2 separate regions of the Homo sapiens genome follow, and region 2 is linked to region 1. Evidence: promoter capture Hi-C in 16 types of primary human blood cells and fetal thymus (Javierre and others, 2016). All regions are on one chromosome and are shown on one strand. Each heading gives the region's core, a stretch centred on a gene start or on the middle of the fragment in contact. The rest is flanking DNA. Distances are from core to core; before and after follow the strand shown.

Evidence for each region. The method cuts DNA at HindIII sites, captures the fragments that hold promoters and counts their contacts. A CHiCAGO score of 5 or more calls a contact.
Region 2: a contact is called between a fragment that was not itself captured here and the fragment with the promoter of ZNF583 in region 1, in 1 of 17 cell types (total CD4 T cells). The highest score is 6.6, in total CD4 T cells.

What each region holds. Positions count from the first base shown.
Region 1 is chr19:56,402,573-56,405,898 of GRCh38, reverse strand. It overlaps ZNF583 (zinc finger protein 583), which reads right to left and starts at 1,567. Exons shown (of 5, transcript NM_152478.3): 1 at 1,447-1,567. RefSeq lists a silencer at 1,334-1,543 and an enhancer at 2,004-2,143. The HindIII fragment of the contact is 8,045 bases long and covers 1-3,326 here.
Region 2 is chr19:44,011,692-44,015,017 of GRCh38, reverse strand. It overlaps ZNF230 (zinc finger protein 230), which reads right to left. Exons shown (of 5, transcript NM_006300.4): 5 at 1,094-3,326. Among named protein-coding and RNA genes, the nearest start is that of ZNF230, 10 kb to the right of the region's middle. The HindIII fragment of the contact is 5,903 bases long and covers 1-3,326 here.

The DNA.
Region 1 (3,326 bases), core at 318-2,817:
CATGCTACCTATACAACCTCTGGCAAGTTAGGTAACCACTGCAAACCTGTTTCTCTATCAGTGAAATGGTAACTATTCCCTATCAATTGTTGGGAGGATTCTGAAATGATCTACATAAAGCATTGAGCACAGTGCTTAATTTTCATCTTTCTGTCATTTATTTTCATAACCAGCACATGGTAGGTCTCCCATTCCTTTTTCCTTTTAAATTCCTCACGTGCCCCCAGAGACTGAGAGGGATGGAAAAACTACTGTGCCAGAGGACAAGCAGCCAGCGTGGTCAGCTTTTCAGGCTTAAGGCTGAGGCTCCTGTCTGTCTCTCCCTTTTCAGCTCTCGTCCCTCCCTTTCTCCATCTTTTCCCCTTTATCTCAATCTTTCTGTCTCTCCACCACAACAGCAGTCTCCCAAACCCCAGAGCACACCAGCATCTCCAAGCACCCACACAGCTTCCTGCCCACACAAATCACAGACAACAAACCACATAGTTTCTCATTCTGGCACCTCCCCTGGCAACCTATGGACATGCCCCCACATTGTAGCCCGCCCTGCTCTCACAATGGGTCATATAAGGCCATTCTCAGTCACACTGTCACACTCACTGTCGGGATGACATACAGTGCTAAGTCACACCATCTCCCTCAGTCTCACATAATCACACACACTGTCATGCACAATCTCAAACACTGTCACATACAATCTTAGTCCAACAACAAAAACTCTGTTCACATACAGTTTCACATACAGTGACACAGTCTCACACACTGTCACACAAATTCTGTCGCAGTTTCATGTGGTCCCATATCAACAGCCACACACCGTACACAACCACACATAGCCTCACACACGGTGACATGGTCTCACATACTGTCACAGTCTCATCTAATCCTACACACACGGTCAAGCTCTGTTCACAAAGTCACACACACTGTCACACAGTCTTACATTATCCCACACACACAGGTCACACACACAGTGACATGGTCTTACACACTGTTCACACGTGGTCTACACATAATGACAGTTTAACACTGTCACACATTCCCAGTCTCACACATGGTGACGTGGTCTTAAGCACATACAGTGTCACACAGTCCCACACGGTCCCATATACTGTCAAAGGCTCCCGCATACACCGGGGCAACGGTCTCATACTGTCGCACACATTCTCACACCCAGTCTCATACTGTCACACATAGTCCCACATTTGTCCCACATGGTCTCACACTGACACACATATTCACACACGGCCTCACATTCTCACACTGTCACACACGGTCTCAAATTCTCACACAGTCACACATGGTCTCACACACGATTCCACACTGTCAAACACATTGTCACACACGGTTCCTTAATGTCTCACACATTCTCACACACTGTCACACACGGTCCCACACATGGTGGCATGGCCGCTCCCGGCGTCAGCTCCATCCCGCGCTCCTCACCGCCTCCTCCCTCCAGTGGGCACCTCCTTCGGCGCGGTCCTTGGAGGCCGGGGCTGGGCCAGGGCCCGGGCCAGGGCTCGATCCTGGCCGGCGGCCGCGCTCACAAAGGCGCCGCAGCCCTAGGGCAGGCCGCAGGGGCCGCTGGGAAATGGAGTCCGGGGCCGGCGCGGCGCAGAGGATGCTGGGATGTTGGCCGAGGGCCCCGGGCGGCCGCAGATCCCGCCGCTCAGTTGCGGGTAGTTACTGCTGCGCCCCTTTCCCTAGTAAGCCCACCTCCGCTGGCCTTCAGAATCCCACCCGGACCAGCTGAGCCCTCTCAGGCCGTTCGACTGTCCGCTCCCCCACCCGTTCCACCCGTTCCACCTGCGCAGGCGCAGCTGGTTCAGGTCCCCAAAGGCTGCCAGGCCGGGGTGCCAGCGCGGTGAGGCGCACGCGCAGTGACCGCGTCCGCGCTCCAGCGCTCCGGGTGGGGCTGTGAGTCCATCGCTGAGAAAAGGGAGCTGGAGGACCAGTGTGGAGCCTGAGCCAGCTGGAGAGGGGCCCGGTAGGATGTACGTGTGATTAAGCGCTCTGGCGGCCCGGGCTTTCTCTTTCCCTTTCTGTTTCTTCTCTCTCCGCCTTGCCCTGTCTTTCATTCGCCACTTATTGAGCGCCTGCTGTATCGGGCACTGTCGTGGGCCCTGGGCACACAGCAGTGAACAAGCAGACAAAATCCCCACCTCATGGAGCAGCATTCTAATGCGGGAGGAATTCAATAGGAAAAAATTAATAATAAAGGACACTGATGCATATTGGGAAGTAATGCGTATTATCAAGAAAAGCGAAGCAGAGTATTAAGATCATTCTTTCAGTTCTTCATTCTTTCAGTTATGCCCTCTGAATCAGTGGAAAAAACGCAAGGTGCATTTTTTTCTATTATCTCAACGACAACTAATCATAACAGAAGACTTTTCTGACCAAATATAGGGGAGTTTCCCACACATCTCAAGCAAGCAATGAGTTCAGTGAGTTCTGCAGCGGGCACCAGCTGGGTGTCCTCCAGTTTAATTCCGACGCCGTCTACTTGGAGATGGGTCAGACACCATTCGCTGAGGGCTCAGTCCCCAAGCCTGCCTCCCCCTTCCCACTTCCCACTAAAGTCTAGCCTCTGGAACATCTGACTCCACCACCTTCAAATTGGGATTTTCACCACCCCCTCTTTGCGGTTCGATATTTTGCTAGAGTGGCTCACGGAACTCAGGAAACACTTATGTTTACTAGTTTATTATAAAGGATATTACAAATGATATAGATGAAGAGATGCGTAGGGCAAAGTACAGAAAAAAGGGTGTTGCACCTTCCAGTAACCTCCACATGTTCAGCTGGGTGGAAGCTCTCTAAACCCTGTCTTTTGGGAGTTTTACAGAGGCTTCATTACATAGGCATGGTTGATTAAAATCCCGTCCCCTCCTTAGGGTTGGGGGTGGGGTTGAATGTCCCAACCTTCTAGTCATGTCTTGGTCTTTCCATAACCAGTCCCCATCCTGAAACTCTATAGGGGTTGCCAGCTGTCAACTCATTAGCATACAAAATGAGTTTTTACTGTTACTTTGTAGTTTCTAAGGATTTTAGAAGTTCTATGCTAGGAAGATCAAATATATATTTCACAATATCATACTCTTATTCCTATTCTTCAATCTGTCTTTGAAAATATTTTATAAACTCCTATCTCTAGTTTATCTCCCAATCCTGTACCATCCCTTCCAAAATCCTGTTGTGCCCTTCAATTGCTTCATTTAATTGTCTGACCAAAGTTGCCAGTGACAAAGAGCATCATATAAGCTGGGAATTTTATTTGAGGAAATTAAACAAACGCAACTATGATATCAGCAAAAAATACT
Region 2 (3,326 bases), core at 253-2,752, about 12 Mb after region 1:
GTAATTCCTGGGCGTGGGCCCAGCTAACTTGGGGAGGAATTTAGTTTATAATTTAAATGGTAATAGCCCTTCCCCCAAACTAAACTGCCTTTGTAATACTATTGAAAGGCCCCACTAGTTTACGAGGATGAGAGGGGCCTGAATTCTAAGATATATGTGTAAAGGATTACCAGTCATTATTCTGATTTCCAGCTGTTATTCCAGAGGTCTTAAAATTTGCAAATTCCCCAGTTACTCCAGTAAATAACACCACTATTGTAGAACCTAAGACTGGCCTTTTGAGATGTCTTTTCAGGCTTCTGCATTTCTGACAACCAGATGGCCCCACCTAAACCCATGACTCTTGACTCAACTGGTCCTGTGGCCCCCACCCAGAAGTGGACTTAATGCACAAGGACCATTTTTCACATCCCCAGCCAACCAGCAGCACCCATTCCCTAGCCCCCTGCCTGTCAAACTATCTATGAAAAACCCTAGCCTCCAAATTTTCAAGGAGGCTGATTTGAGTAATAATAAAACCCTTGTCTCCCATTTAGCCAGTTCTATGTGTATTAAATTCTTTCGCTATTGTGAATTCTCTGTCTCGATAAATCAGCTGTGTCTGGGCACTGGGCAGGATCTCCAGTATTTGCACACTCCCTGACTTATCCCTAAAGAAGCATCACATGCTTTAATTACCAAGACAGTTAACCAGACTTCATCACTTTATCTGCATATTCTAAAAACCAGAGAATATATATATATTTTTGAGACAGAGTCTCACTCTGTTGCTCAGGCTGGAGTGCAGTGGCATGATCTCAGCTCACTGCAAGCTCTGCCTCCTGGGTTCACACCATTCTCCTGCCTCAGCCTCCCGAGTAGCTGGGACTACAGGCGCCCGCCACCACCTGGATAATTTTTTGTGTTTTTAGTAGAGATGGGGTTTCACCGTGTTAGCCAGGTTGGTCTCGATCTCCTGACCTCATGATCCACCACCCTCAGCCTCCCAAAGTGCTGGGATTACAGGCGTGAGCCACTGCGCCTGGCCCAACCAGAGAGTATTTCACTTTGAAATGACTTCAAAATGCCCTAGTCATTGTGAACTTACATCATATGACAATATAGAGCAATTTTATTCTGAGATTCTGAGTCCTGGTAGGTAAGTGATTAACGTTAATAAGTTTGCAAATTTATTGCACTAAATTTACTGCTTTGATAAAACTGATGTTCACTGAGAAAAAATGCATAAAATTATAAAATGGAAAAATACCAGCAAATATTCATTGCCAGAGGAAAGAATAGTTGTTCACAAATTACGTATATACACATTAAAAAGTCCCAGAAACACACAAAGATATTTGATTATGTTATGAAGGTTACAGTCAGATTTCACAAAGCTCACATTATGTTTTTCTCCTTTTACTGTATGTCTGGTTCCCTCATTTTATTGGTCTTATGTTATAGGAATAAATGCATTTCACACAAATTCTTGTTGAATACTTATTCCATTTTAAAATGGGGTGATATCATCCATGTGGTTTTCTACTTTTCACAGTTTTAACATCATAATCATAATTTCCTATCCCATCATTTCCAGGTAAAACACTTGTACCTTATACATTCTGATATACACTGCTTACAAAAGACTTATTTTTACTGCCAACAATAAAGAAGAGCATGTAAATGTCACTCCTACCCCAATCATGGATACATTTCATGAAATTACCAAACTCCGATAGGTTTCTCTTGGTATTTCATAGAGATAGGAAGAGAATATTAGGTTAGGTTTCCAAAAATTGTCAAATTGGCATAGCTTCTACCTGAGTTGTTTGATAAAATAAATGCTACCACAATTAGAAGGCCATTATATCAAGGCCTGCATGGAAATACAGAAGCAATCATGAGAATTCAGAACTAAGGAAGTTTTTTCCAACGTAACTACATCTGCCACGTAAAAAGTATTACTATAAATTTTGCCTTAACACTGTTGAAAAAAATGTAATTGTGATATATGCAGTGGACTGTTATTGACAAGTTAACAAACCATTTTCAGCCTGTAGTGTGAGAAGAGTTACAAATGATTGTTGAATTTATATTGTATGCAACCAATGGAGCATTAGACAAAGCCACTAGTAGTAAACTTCAGAACAGAGGATGAGGGGAAGCCAGCAGCCAAGTGCAACAGGGTAAGATTACCCAAAATAATGCTTTGGATTGCAGAACTGAGTGTATTCTGCATTTTAACTCGTGTCCCTGAATTATTTTTTGTAGATTTTCTCTCCTAGATGCAATTTTAAAATATCATATTTTCTCCTTTTGAGTCATTTAACACATACTAAACATGTAAGTGCTAATCAGTGTTAAGGTCCTGAGGATGCAGAAAACAAGGTACCTGTAGTTGACATTCTAGTGGTCACCACTTTTGACATGTTCATCATTAGGGTTTTGTAAATGTGTGAACAAACTCTTATTCTAAGGCCTGTCTCCTGAATGACAAGCGTAAGTTCTGTTTGCAACCCTACTGCACAATTTACAAGAGTTCTCTACTACGATGGTCCTAGGATGATGGGAGAATGCTGAGCTATGGTGAAACACTGAATTTAACTTAAACAAATGTTTTCTGTCCTACAAGCCTGGATGAAATATATTATCAGTATGGACTGTGATAAATTATGATATAAACACACACTGAAGTGCTTACCATATGCCTCTTTTTAATGTTTTGCCCCTTTGTGAACTCTCAAATGAGATTATAGACAACTGAGCAGAGACTTTATCACACACCTCATTACTAAGGATTCTGTCCAACGTGGACACTCTGGTGCAGTTGAGGACTTGAGGCCTGAGGTGGTATGAAGCCATATCACCCTAGCCACACTTCCATAGTTTTGCTCTTGTGTCAAGCCTCTGAGGCATAAGATTCGAGTGATCTAGCAATCCCACTATTGAGTATATCCAAAGCAAAGGAAATCAGTATGTGGATCAGATATCTACACTACCATGTTCATTGGAGCACTATTCTTCACAATAGTTAAGATATGGAACCCACCTATGTGTCCATCAATAGATAAATGAAGAAAAGGTGGCATATATACACAATAGAATACTCTTTGGGCATAAAAAGAAAACAAAATTGTGTCATTTGTGGCAACATAGATGAGCTTTGGAGGACATGTTAAACAATATAAGCTAAGCAAGGTAAGATAAATACTAACTGTCCTCACACACATATGGAAGCTAAAAAAGTTGATTTCATAGAATTAGTGAGTAAAACAGTGGTTCTAGAAGCAGGGAAGTGTAGGGGTTAGGTGAGATAGCCAAAGATTGGGTAACAAGATACATAAGTA